Regions from separate parts of the Homo sapiens genome. Here region 1 is linked to region 2. Evidence: promoter capture Hi-C in 16 types of primary human blood cells and fetal thymus (Javierre and others, 2016). All regions are on one chromosome and are shown on one strand. The core of a region is centred on a gene start or on the middle of the fragment in contact, and the rest is flanking DNA. Distances in the headings are between cores, read along the strand shown. Region 1 overlaps POU3F3 (POU class 3 homeobox 3). Region 2 holds the start of OSR1 (odd-skipped related transcription factor 1).

What was found. Contacts are between HindIII fragments. The CHiCAGO score rates a contact against its expected background, and 5 or more counts as called.
Region 1: a fragment that was not itself captured here is called in contact with the fragment with the promoter of OSR1 in region 2 in 1 of 17 cell types (total B cells); the score reaches 16.1 in total B cells.

Annotation. Positions count from the first base shown.
Region 1 is chr2:104,856,622-104,863,565 of GRCh38, reverse strand. POU3F3 (POU class 3 homeobox 3) reads right to left here. Exons shown (of 1, transcript NM_006236.3): 1 at 4,992-6,944. The coding sequence ends at 6,553. LOC124908045 reads left to right here. Exons shown (of 2, transcript XM_047446880.1): 2 at 1-325. The coding sequence ends at 325. Among named protein-coding and RNA genes, the nearest start is that of POU3F3, 6.0 kb to the right of the region's middle. The HindIII fragment of the contact is 3,665 bases long and covers 776-4,440 here.
Region 2 is chr2:19,355,532-19,362,148 of GRCh38, reverse strand. OSR1 (odd-skipped related transcription factor 1) reads left to right here and starts at 3,526. Exons shown (of 3, transcript NM_145260.3): 1 at 3,526-3,808. RefSeq lists enhancers at 3,654-4,182, 4,848-5,812, 5,813-6,617. The HindIII fragment of the contact is 8,359 bases long and covers 1,894-6,617 here.

The sequences.
Region 1 (6,944 bases), core at 1,359-3,858, about 86 Mb before region 2:
TCAGCCAGGCCTTGAACTCAGCCCCTCTGAACTCCACCGTCAGCAGCGTGGGCGGCAACTCAATTCTCCTGGGAGGAGGCTGCACCCCCAGAACGGAAAATCCGCAAACGTCGCGCAGAGACCCACAGGCATTTCTACCTTTCCTTCCACAAGCCCTGCAGAAAGTTATCGCCAGAACCTCTGGAACCTGAGCCGACTCCAGCCTCCAGCAACTCCCTCAACCTTCCAGGGAAACTTTCAGAAGTTTCCCTTTCCTTCGCTCCTCAATTCCTTGGACTTTCTCCAGCCCCCAGGTTTGCTCATTACTCTGCTGACTGCCCTTTAGTCTCTAGGGCTCCACAGGCCTGAGCGTTTCCAGAATAATAATAATAATAATAATAATAATAATAATAATAATAATAATAATTGTTATTATGAGGCTGGGGAAGAACAGGATCAGAGGGTAGGAGGGACTGAGGGAGAGAGTGGACATGTTTATGAAAAGGTTTATTTAAACCTGTGTTTCAAAAGGGTTCAGTTGACAATTATCAGTAACCCCGATAGACAACTCCATTAAAAAAAAAAAGAATTTACTATTGCTCTTGAAAGCCGTTATTTTTTCCATCGCTTTTTAGGAAGATAGATGAACAAAACATCGCGTTTCAAGCCATTTTGATCTGTAATTGAAAGGCAGGATCGGTTTGTATTCTCCTACGGCTTTTACAGAAGTTGCAGTGATCCAAAGTCGGGTTGCTGTGTCAGAGTGGCATTTTTATTAATGAGAATACAAAAAGCTTGCATATTCTTAGCCCTGCTTGAATTTAGTTGCTAAGCAACGGGTGTATGGTAATTCATCCGCGAAATTTAAATCTTTGAGAAAGGTTCGTGCGTTTTGCTGAATGGTCGCCACGAGGAAAACAACTTGTGGGACCCACAGCAGCTGCCACAGTCTGGCCGCCCGGCCGTGCCGGGCCGAGCAGGGACCCGGCCGCCCCACCGCGACCGCCACCGCCCCACCTCCGCGCCCAGCCCTGCCCTCCCTCCCGGAGAGAAGCGAGCTTTGGACGCCCGGCTGCCTCGGGTCCCCCTCCCCCTCCGCCTCTTCTGATCCGGGGTTTTCACCGGAGGCAGGCCTTACACCTGACCCCGTCGCCTGTACCCCTAGGGCTTCGGGGTCCAGACTGCGAATTTCCGCTTCCCCCTCCCCTCACGCGCACCCACATGCACACGGCACGCGCGCGCACACACTAGCGCACACATCGTGCCGCCAAGAGAATGACTGTTGCCCTCTTCCCAGACCCCTCTGAGGTCACTTCCAGAGCCAACTCTTCCTTGAGGAAGACCGGACTCATCAAGAACGCAGCGCACAGCCCGCCAGAAGGCCAGGCGGCCGCCTCTGGCCGGCAGTGACATCATAGGCTCCTGCTCGCCAAGCTCGCGCCCGCATTTTAGGATACAGGAACAAACACGGATGTGAAATCAAGAATGAAAGAGAGAGTAATCTAATTAATAGGCCATGAGCCAGGCTAACAAAATCAAAGAATCTGATTACACAAGTACCCCTCCTGCTATCTCCGCTGCCCCCACCCCCAGCTCCTCCAGCCTGCGCACTATTTCCTTTCCTAGGCTGCAAAGTTCAGGATGCAAACGCAGAGGCTTCTGCTTTCCTTATTGAAATCAACGTCAAGCCTACCGTGAGGATCCTGCACCCAGGAGGTCACATGGGTGAACTTCAGGCCCTCAGACCAGCAGCCCTGAGGAGCTGAGATGACCAACCGACCTACAGAACTTGGAGAGCCTGAGAGGTTGCCCCACGCTTCTCACATGCGTCACTCAACAACAACAACAGCAGCAGCAGCAACAACAACGACAACAACACCTGTGCTGATTGCTTATGCTGTTAGTAGCTGGACTAGGACAAAGGGCTTCTCCACTCACAGTCATTTTATAGATCATCTAATTTTTTTTCTTCAGTCTAGCACAACTCTTCTTTTTTCACATCACCTTGTTTCTGGGTCACTGATAACCTCAAACTCCCAACTCTTATTACAACTCCCTTTCCCAACGTAGATGTCTGAGCACAGTCAGGTATTAGGTTATCACTGAAACATAGCATCTGCTCTAATCCTTGCAGCCAGCCACGTGCATTTCATGAAAGAAGAAAATTCTTTAATTTCTGTCTTTCTGCCTTAAAAAAACAATCAGGTCCACCTTTTAAATAATTAATTTCAAGTCTGCATCCAGTGCCAATACTTGTTGCATCCATTTTAGAGTTGATTAATTACCCTGGAACTTGGGCAAACTAAACTCCATGTGGAGAGAATGTTTCTTCCTTCAATTTAGTACTGAAAGCTACAAGTTATTAATGGATTTTACTCAATTTACATACAAATTAGTGCAAATATGCCCGTCTCTTAAAGTACATTTTTGTATAAATATATAAAAGTATCATTTTTGATTTAGCTTGAAGAGGTTGATCATTTATTACAAAAATAAACGAATAAATACAACAATATATTGTTGCTTTCAACAGGATAAATACTTTACAAATATATAATTTAAAAAACAAATTTAATTGTTAAAATTATTTAAAATATTACACTTATCGATAAAACTATCAATAGTATATACTGCATTTAATATTAGAACCAATTATTCTCTGAATGTTCAAAACCATTCATACAAAACAGATTATGAGCATGGTCATGAGCAAACACTGGAGGCTACAGGGCAGCAAAGGGAATCGCTAAGATCAATAACGAACAGTTCTCTTCGGAACAAAGAAGTAGTCCTTGGCTAAGTACTAAAAAAAAAAAAAAAAAAAAAAAAAAAAAGGCAGAGCAACAATAGCAAAGTGACTATTTTCAATACACCTTGAATGATTTATCGCACAGACTTGCCAGGGGAAGATGGTTGTGGGAGCGACGGAGGCTTGGACAACTGATCAAGAGCCACAGGAGACTGTAAACTGTAAGTGGGCCTAGCTTGGGATTAGCAAGGCTGATGGAACAGAACTTTGTCACTTTCCTTTGGGTTGGAAGGGGAGGGGGGGTTGGATTGAAATGGAGGAAACAAATGGGCACTTTACGAAGCACAAGACACTTGCACTGCAAAGGAACACAATGACCAAATTCATTAAAAAGATCTGGTGATATATAACAATATTTTCATTATTTACATGTGTAACAATATAAGCCTTAGCACAAAACCTCTCAGTTATATCTGCCCTCTTTTGTTTTTCAACCATGAATTTCATTTTGTAATTACATTGAAAGGGTTGATTAAAAAAAATGGAGTGCAAGCATTAGCTCACTTTATAAAATGCAAATAATGAAACAAAATGGGTTTGCTTTCCCAGCTTCTCCAATTAAAAGTTACTCTGCTACCCCCAAATCAGGGATTCTTCCAAAGTAATCAGCAAAGTTTGCTTTTTAATAGAAAACAGTGTGAAATCTAATGTTAGCTCTTTTGTTGTCAGCTAAATCAACTAAGTAGATACCTCCTGAAATTTTTTTAATAGACCTATTACTTGTCTAATCAACCACCACCATTCCCATAGGAAAAACAAGATTCCATCTCACGTGCCAGTAGTATCCACCACATAAAAACAACCTGACCAGTCCTCAGCTTTCCAATGAGGACTTCTTTGCTTGCCTCTCTAGACACCCCCAAAATGGTGAACTTCTCCCCCACCCCCACTCCAGGTTGTAAATTTGCTGGGCATAGGGATTACAGCAGCAAGAGAAATAGGGAACAAGAAGGCAAAGAAAAGTAAATTGTGGTTTCTTGTCTTCATTTTTTTCTTCTCTCTGTTTAATATATGTGGCCTTTTTCAGATTTCACAAATCAAAATGATTGTGATTTTTAGTACGATTTGGTGTTTAAAATAATGCAACCCAATACATGGCCATCTGGCTGGGTTTGATTTATGAAAGTGACACAGGGCCTGTCTGGGAGAAATAACTGTGCCTTGTTGCTCTCACAGTTTTCCGGGTTTTTTAACCCCTGCATTGATATCACAGGGAGAGGGAGTGAAGATGAGAGAAGGAGGAAAAAAAGTGAGTGACAGCTAAGTGAGATTGGGGGGAATTTGTCTATAAAATCGTTGCTCTACCACTGCTAAATACTTTTAAGTACAATATATAGGGACTCAACTAAGCCGAGCCTTTAGCGTCTTAAGTACTCACAACCTGAGGCATTACACTTTCATTTTCCCACATTGTAAATATTGAAACATTAACTTGATCAATGTGACCACTCTGCAGGGTTTATGTAAAAGGTGACCTAAAACCCCCAGCACCAGTAAAGAAGATATAGAATCATACTGGGGAGAGACAAAAACACAGAAATATAGAACCTTAAGTCTGAGTTGGTAATTGCACAGATGGTATGCAGTGTGGACCATAATCAGGATTTTAGAACTATATTCTTTTATTACGGGGGGAAAAAACCCAAAAAGCTTAATAATTTAAATTTAATTACATATAGTTATTGATGGGAAGTAATTGATATCAAAATATTTTATAAGACTTATAAGCGACTCCTAACAACTATAGTCTTGAGAAAAAGAGAAAAGAGACAGGAACATGTTGGGAGGGGGACAGGAGAAGAAAAAAGAAGCTGAACTTGGGGGGAGGGGCTGTATTAACCATTAATAGCCAGTTGGCTCATTTTTACTGGTGATATCGTTCAATCTTTCGATAAGAAACACAGGTATCGCCAAGAAAAGGGTTAATATTTAGGCAATCTCACCTGAAAACACTAAAGACATCCACTAAAATTAAGGGAGAGAAAAATATTGTGAATTTATGGATTATCGAGGAGTGACTACTATGTTAAAATACTAGCTGTCTCAGCAATGCCTATGCTTTACTCTAGATTTCCAAAAGTACCTTAAGTGGAGCAGGCTCTACTTCCTCAACGCTATTACTTAGGGATTTTCATTAGTAAAAAAATATTTCTTAAAGAACTCTTTTCTTCCCACACAGTGTTTACGCATCAGACACAGACTATTTCATTCTAACAAATTTATTTTCTCGATCAGCTCTTACGGAATCACTACTCAAATTAAATTACAATCAAATGATCACATCAAAAGATACCCTTATTACCTAACAACTGTCCATATTTTCATTTCATTTTGATTTGTGCTCGTCTGAAAAAAACACGTAATACAAGATCTGGGGAAAAATAAATTACCGTTTTGCAGCAGTTCATAAGTATTCTGAATAAAATATTAAAAGAAGTCATTTAATGAAAATATAAAGCAAATATTTTTAGATCAACAACGGATCTAACAATTCTATATTGCCGTCTTTTGAAAAGTCTGTTTATTAAAACCTACCAAAAACACTGCTTGGAAATGGCAGTATTATATAATCACATCCACAGCACCCATTCAATCAAAGTTGGCAACGGATTGAGGAGAGAAGTCCAGAGAAGTGCAGCGGCTGGTGCTCAGTCTTTCTAAATTCCTTTATCTGAGTCAGTCCAGAAATAAAAAATAAAAAATATTAATAAAAAAAATATTAGCGGTGGAATCTTTAGGCATCGTCCACCCTGAATGGCAGCCGTCAAAGCCTGGGTACGCGGCCGGGCCTGGCTCGGCGGCCTCGCTGGCTGGGCCCCCGCTCTGCTCCCAGTTCGCCCGCCCGCCCGCGACCCGACTCGGCCGGGGCCTCTCGCCACTCCTCAGCGGACGTTCCCCCTCTCCCTCTGCTCCTTCCCGATCCTTTTATTTCCAAGGTTACTTTGAGGATACTTTTCTTTTGGCTTTGCTATTCAGTCTGTTAGTTTCAGAAGCTGTCAATATAATTATTTTTTTCTTGGAGACTGTTTTTCCCCCCTCCTTCCCATTTCAGAGTTGATTTGTTTCCAAATGACTTTAATATGGCCAAGAAAAACAGGGTCCCAGAGCACGGTGTCGTCCCCTGATGGAACCTGGTGCCTCTGTTTTCTCTCAGGTCGCTCCCAGGAAATAAAGTTTCCGTGGATCTCTTTAGGCAGCTGTTTTGGAGGGAGAAAGTGAAAGGAAAGGGGACTCTCTCTCTCTCTTTTTTTCAAAGAGGAGAAGACGAGGCAGGTGCTGTCCACCGCTGCCGTGTAGGTCATCTCAGGGTGGAAAAACCTCACGAGTGCAGTTTTCGTGCGTCAGGCATCTTCACCCTTCTTTAAAAACAAAAACAAAAACGAAACACCACCACAGTATGAACGAGATCTCATGATCGCCCCCTTTTTCTCTTCCGGTTTTGTTTGTTATATATGTATACAAAACAGTCTGGGTGTTTATTATGCTTTTTATTTTTTGGCCCCTCCTTCCTTGGACTGCAAAAATGCCTCCTTGGTCCGTTTCTCCCGCGTTTTCTCCTCCAAGGGCGGGCATGCCTGTCTCTGGGTGGAGGGGAGGGCGGCGGATGGGCCTGGGCTGGAGCCCGGAGCGGCCCAGGTGCAGGGTCGGCGCGGCGGCGGCAGCGGCGGCGGCGGCGGCGGCGGCGGCGGCAGGGGCGGCGGCGGTGCTGACGGCGGCTGCGGAGGCGGCGGCGGCGGCGGCCCTCTTCGCTCTGCGCCCTGGCTTCACTGAACGCTCGTCTGCAGCCCGTGGTGAGGCGGCGGCGTGTCGGCGCTCACGGTGCCCACCTGCGAGTAGACGTCGTCGGGCGTCTGCTGTTGGATCCCGGGCGGCGTCATGCGCTTCTCCTTTTGGCGCCGATTGCAGAACCAGACCCGCACCACCTCCTTCTCGAGCTGCAGGCTGTCGGCCAGGTTGGTGATCTCCTGCGCGGAGGGCTTGGGGCACTTGAGGAAGTGGCTCTCCAGCGCGCCCTTGACGCTCACCTCGATAGAGGTCCGCTTCTTGCGCTTGCGGCCCTGCGCCGCGATCTTGTCGATGCTTGTGGGGCTGCCGGTGCTTGAGTCCGCCTCCTCCAGCCACTTGTTCAGCAGCGGCTTGAGCTTGCACATGTTCT
Region 2 (6,617 bases), core at 2,277-4,776:
TTACAGGAAGTAGTTGCGTTGGAAGCAAAAATTCGCAAGTGCTGAGCAAACTTCATTTGAAAAAATGAGGACTTTTTTTTTTTTTTTTAGGCTATGGGGTGCGGAGAGGTGGGGTTCATTTTTTTTTGAATCCAAAACAACTCAAAGCAATATAGACCACATTCTAGTTAATTTTCTGGAAGCTGCTCAATTTTCACTCCGAAGACAGGCTGGGGCGCTTTACCAAGGAGCAGGAATCGGGAGAGGGGCTGGGGTTTGGCGTGGAGACATGAGCAGCGGGCCGTCACCACCGCAGGCGTGCCCAGGAAAAGGCGGCAGCAGGGCTTGCTGCGGGACTGGGTTCAGTGCGGTCCACAGCCCGGAAGCCCGGGCAGACGGAGGGATCGCTCCCTTGACGGACCTCACATCGACTGGCGGGTTGTGGAGCGGAGCGCCGGACGGAGAGCTGGAGGCCTGGTCTCTACTGAGGGGACCCTTCTTCTAGGCTGCCCGGTCCCAGCCGAGTCTGGGACCACTCCGGCGCCCGCGGTTCCGCCCCGAAGGCAGTGAGCGAGAGAGCCAGAAAGAGTCGCGGCGGAGTTCGCGCCGGCTGGAGTCCGCAGGCTCCGAGCTAGCAGAAGCTGCAGCCGCGGTGGCGGAGTGCGCTGGACTCCCAGTAATGAGATGGGAGTTTTGTCACCTTCATTGGGTTTCCAGGAGGGCAGAACTGTTGGGTCCTAGCTACCGAGGACTTTTACCAAATTCGAAACGTGACGTCCTCGCGAGTCCTAAACACATGTAACCTCGCTTAAAAAGTACCCTTGTTGCTCTTAGGTGTCCTGCGTCCTTCCCTTGTCAATCCATCCAAGCGGTAGTCCGGGCACTGCGCAGCGACGCAGGGCCCGCTTAACGTGATCAATTTCTCTTAAACAGGCGGGGGATGGGATACCGCAGCACCGAACGGCCGGAGGGATTCTTAGCTTCCTGGGCTTCTTCCTGCCTGCCCCGCCCAGAAGGAACCCAGACTTTGGTTGGCCTCCTGTGGAGGTCAAGGCTAGGGTTTGGGGGTCACCCCCTTGGGAGCTCAGAGCGGGATGGAGGACTTTTCAGCTCCTAGCAATTCTTGAATTTCGTTATCCTGGCTTTCTGAGGCTGTGCATTGTCAGCGACCTAGGAGACGCCTCTCTGAAGCCAGGCTTCTGAAACAGGTGAGCCCTTGTGGAGAGCCATCGTCACTAGCACTCAGGTGCACTCTGGCCTTGTCCTGTTGTGGCCTTGCTGACCAGCTCCAGGCAGAGGTGGTCATGATTTCTCTGGGAGGCACAGCCTGGGGGACCAACACCAACCTTGCTTCCATCTACTCTACATCTGCTCTACAACCTGCTCTACATCTACTAAGTTCTAGAGACCTGAGTCAGGATCAGTTTTCAAGATAATCTGGCAAAGCAGTGGTGAAACAACTCGGTTGCATGTTTCTTCTTTAAGATCAGGAACACTTTCTCTCCGAGAGCTCTTTAGGGATCCTACTACTTAGGGCTTTCTGGAAGTTCTGAGGCATATTGGCCAAGGGCCCTGTTTTAGAAAAGAAAGACAAGGAGAAACATAAAAGAAGCCCAGCTGAGTTATGAGGGGTGCATAGCAGGAGTTTGGGTATTTACACCCCAGGAGGTTCCATCCCACCTGAATGACCAGCCACTATTCCTAAGTGATCTGGACAGCCAGAGGCCCTATCGTGTGGGCATTTTTTTTACTTCTTAACTTTTGCTGCTGGTAATGGAGGTTACCCAAGCTTTGCTTATTTGGAGAGCCTGAGGCTGGAACAAGCACACTCCCTGTGCCCAAGGTGGAAGCCAGCAAAGTTCAGCATTGCCCTGTGTAGACTTTCCCTCCAGGCCTTTCCTTGCCCTTGAAGCTTTCTGTTCTGGAATCTCTAGGAAGGAGGTGTGATCTCAGCTCTCTTCTCTTCCAAGGGTTCTTACTCTAGCAAGAATGTCACTACATCCTAGCAACTGCTAAGATTCCAGGAGCATGGACAAACTTATGTGAATCTCTTACTTCTGCACTAACCTGAGGCACTGGGTAAAAGCTGTTCGTTGGAGCAAAGATTGCACCCCCTCTTACTCCTCCTCAAACAAGACGAAGTTACCCAGGGGTTAGAGGCTAGATTCTGTTCTAAAGGCCTGGGGATATAAGGAAATCCTCTTTCAACTATGCCTTTGAGGGAGGGGAGTCTTCATTACCATCTCCCTAGGTCAGGTATTACAACCTTCTTCACCTCCCAAGAAAATCAGATTAGCTTTGCAAACCAAAGCTGGAGATAGCAGAAGCTCCTCGGGAGAGAAGCAGTACAGTACTTAGGGACCCACGGAATCTAGGATCCAGCTCCAAGAGTCACTCAGCAGCAACTCTGGGGCAAAGGCAGAGAGTGCAGTTGTGTGATCTGGACCCACACAAGTCCCAGGAAACCAGTGACTCCTCCTTGCCAAACCCAAGGCCTGGAAGGGTATTCCAGAAAGGCATTAGGGAGGGATTGGGCTGGGGTCAGCCGGAGGTCAGCTTTCAGAGATGGGTAGTCAAGGGGGTGATGGTACCCTCCATAATGCCTAGGCAATGAAGATAGAATTTTTAATGTCCAGAACTCTGATTCCTTTCCGATTAAAAACTCCACCTGAACCAGCTCCTTGACTCAGAGGCCCTGGAACTGACAACTTTGCAGCTCGTCTAGCTTGCCAGTGCGGCTCTCTAAACTCTGATCCATCCTAAAACAAATATGTAAGTAGAGAGTGCCACTGTGCATTGGGGTGAAATCTCAGAGAGTTCTGGGCCCCAGGAAAATAACTTTCCTGACCTCCTTTCCCTACTCTTTGTTCTTTCTACTGGACTCCAGAACTTAGGGTCTGGGGTCAACCATAAGCACTCAGATGTTACAGCTCGCTTGCTTCGGTGACCCTGGCCCTCCCGCACCAGGAATTAACCAGCGCTGCCTGGGTTAACACCCTGGCCCCGAGCACGCTTGGATAGCCAGGAGCTGCTCCACACTCGGGGTCTGCCGCCTCTGGAAAGAGATTCTGGGAGGAGATGCGACTCTGTCAGGCGCCAAAGTGCGTTGAAACCCAAGCCGCGGTGTGGGGATCCCGGTGCACAGAGCTACTGCCCCTCCCTCCCTCCTCCCAAAGAGCACGGGCTGTGTCCTAGGAGCCCAAGTATAGGACCTCGAAACGTGCGGTGCCAGCCCGCTCTCATCTGCTAGGGACCGTTTCCTCCAGTGCGCCAGGCGTGCCGCTCTGGACCTAAAAAGGCAGCAGGGGTCGCGCGGGACTGAAGAGGAGGGGACGCAGGTTGGGAGAGGCCGGGTCCAAGCGAGAGCAGCTGCCAAAGTCTGCTGCCCGGGTCAGCAAAAACTTTGTCTTTCATTGCGCAGGCGCAGGGCAGGGTTGGGGGGCAGGGGAGGGAGGGGAGGAATCCTGAGGCAAGGGGCGGGGGTGGGGGTGGTGGAGGAGGGAGGGTGGTGGATTAAAATAAGTAGGCGGCTCGGTGCTAAGGGATGAGTGAGTCGGAGCTCGGCCTCTCCCCGGCACGTTCTCAGCTGCTCCTGGTTCAGACCCAGCGAGGGAGCCGCGAGCGAGGCTCACCGTCCCCGGCGTGCAGGATCCGGGGCTGCTGAGCGCTCGCTCCCGCGTGTCCGGCGCTTGGAGTCCCCGCGGCAGGAGAGGAGTCGGGACACTAGAGCTCCAGGGGCGCCTGTGGGCTCCAGGGCCTCCGGCTTCCCCAGTCCCCTTCAGCTAAAGCCCCAGAGACGTGCTCAGCCCCAGGACCTCTGCGGAACAAGGTAATTGCAGTCCTGGGCGCCTGGGCTCAGCAAAGCGAATGCGGGCAGGACTCCCAGGTTCCTTGTCACTGCTCGGCGGGTGCCTCCTCTCTCTCAATGCCCCTGAAGGAAGCTCTTGCCAAACGAATGCTGTAGGACTTTTGTGAAAGTGAGAGCAGGGTGGTTGGGGGTGCTGCCTCAGGACTTCCTGCGCGGGGTCCTCGGCCTCTGACCGCTGGGGATTAAGGGGGGCGGGCCTCCGCTACTGCGGCCAGCCCGCCCGGCTCTGCGGAATCACGGGCGAGGTGCCCACGGACTTTGAAAGTCAATCTGTGGGCCCCCTTTAAGAAACCAGAGCAACTTCAGCGGGCACAAACTTTCCTGAGACGCGCTCCTAGCTCTGGCTGACGCCCAGGTTGACGAAGAAGGAAGGGAGAGGGAGTGAATGGCCACAGCCGCAGCCGACCGCGCCAGGGACAGGTGCATGCCCCAGCTCGGTAGCGCTTTCGTTCAAGTTTGTCTTTTGAGGAGTTGCGCTCTAGTATGAGGCCGCCTAGACCCGAGAGCGCAGGGCTGCGAGTCTGAACCCCGCCTTGCACTCGCGCTCTAACTTAGGGATATTCTCCATAGGATGATTGCTCTGTGTCGTCAAGGCCTGGAGCGGAACCCTTGATTGTCCTGGTGCAGGGAGGCAATGCAGTGGGCGCAAGCACTGCTTTCCAATTCGAGACCCACACACAGCACTAGTGGAAACTCTGTGGAGCCCTAGGGTCTCCGGGCTGGGGACAGGAAAAGTTCTGTTACTCCCCTGACTGTCCGCTAATCCAGCCGTCAGGAGAGAAAGAAGGGGGAAAGGGGTGAAGGGCTGCCTGCTGAACTAATTTCTCCTCGGAAATGTCTCGGAGAAGAATGAAAAACCACGTTTAGTCCTTTTTCAGCAGCTCAGGCAGTAGCGGGTTGGGTTCTCAATGTGTAAAGTAGCCGCAAGGGTTTCTTTGTTGCCACAATTTGGTAAATTTCACCCAGGCTAAGAGCTGCGCATTGGCTCTGCGGAACAAAACCACGTGCAAGGCTAGGTGTCCCAGGTTCACAACCCCCTAGGGAAGAGAAGCGCTGGAGGGGACTAGCAGCGACCGGCGGCGTGTAGATGTTCCATCCCAGGCTCCTCGAGGTAATTGCTGTTTTATTAAGATTGGGGAATGGATCACCGAGGACGCAGCGGACATTTAAGTGCAGCCGGATGACCGCCTTGCCAATGGGTTCGTTAGATCTCGTTTGTTGGGAGAATGCTATAGAAGTATCCGGTGCCGGTCAGTCCTCTTCACGGGGGTCCGGACGCCTGTCACCACTCGTTGGAGATTCGATGTCAAGGCTGATTTTCTTGGGTTGCTGCTGGGCTCCCCCAGGCGCAAACTCGTGGAGTTCGCTCCCGTTCTCATTAATGCAAGCAGTTAACTTGCTCACGCTCAATTAGCCCCGAATAAACCACTTTAATAGACTCTGCACACTTCATTAATGCCCAGCATAGGACTGGCCGCAGACCTGGGATTGGCGCTCCACCGCGCGAGGGACGCGAGTGCCCGCACTGCGCAGGGACTCGGGATCCCGAGCGCGAATTGCGTCTGCTGTGCGTGGTCGGGTCCCCTTATTCTTTCCCGCAGGTCCTGAGGCCCAAGCTGTTTGAGGAATGGGTGCCTAGCCTGGGGAAGGGTTTTCCATCCTGTGTTTAAAGATCGAAAGTATTCGCCCTGGGGTTCCGCGGTCTGGGAAACCGGAGCCGGAGGAGCCGGGGGCTCACTCATCCTTTCTGGCTGGAGAGGCTAGGGTGAGACTGTGTTTTTCTCTTAACCGACCTCCTGAAACCGGATCGTGCTTTCGGCCCATTCTTGATACTAGTGTAAAGAGCCACGTTTCGAATGAATTTCGTCCTGGGGAAAGTCGTTGGCGGGAGCCTGGGGAGCACTGGCTTCCGAATGCTTCAGAAAACAAGGAACGGGCTGGGCCGCGGAAGAAAATAAATGTAGTGTTGGGGAAAACAAGATCGGGCAGATAGCCCGGAAAGGTTGGCTCCCAGGAACCATTATAGCTGCAAGCACTCCCCCTTCCCGGCACCCCCTACGGAGCCCAAGACGGCTCCGGTCTTGGCTCTAAGGAAGAAGGCGAGGAAAGGCCTAGCGAGGTTGGTGGTTTCTCCCACCCAGGCACGGAGCGGGTTCGGGACAGTGTGCAGGCCAGAGTCCCACAGCCACGGCCGCTGGCTTGGCCTTGGATAGGCCAAGCACCCAGAGGAGCAGGGGGAGGCCTCCGCGGCGCCCAGCGGGGTCCGGGACCCGGAGATAAGGATCTGATTTCCAGCGCCTGGAAGGGAAGAAGAGGTGACAGCAATTCAAAGAGCGCTCATCCCTCCTAAGTCCAGGCCGACCTTTGAAGTTAGACAGGCTTCTCCTCCTTCCCCTTCCCCAACCCAAATGGGTCTCAGCTTCCTCTCTGGCCCAATTTGAAATTTACTTCTCCTTGTGTCCGAGCTCTGGGATAGTCTCAATTTGTCCCGGGCACGACCCGAGCTTGGCGCAGTAGAGATGACCGTTGCTGAAGCCACGGCGCTGCCAGCGGCACCAGCGCTCTGCTTCAGAGGCCAGATCACGCAGATAATATGCCTCCTCTTGCCCTGAGGCTAAATTCATTGCAACGGTTTTTATCCGAGTGCTAATTTAAACTGCGCAGGCAAATCACGGCCAGCTCGTGGTGTTTTTACACCCCATTCCCAGGAAGGCCTCTTTCCTTAGGTCCCACCACACAGCCAGTGGCCCCCGTGCCAGCTTCCAGGAGA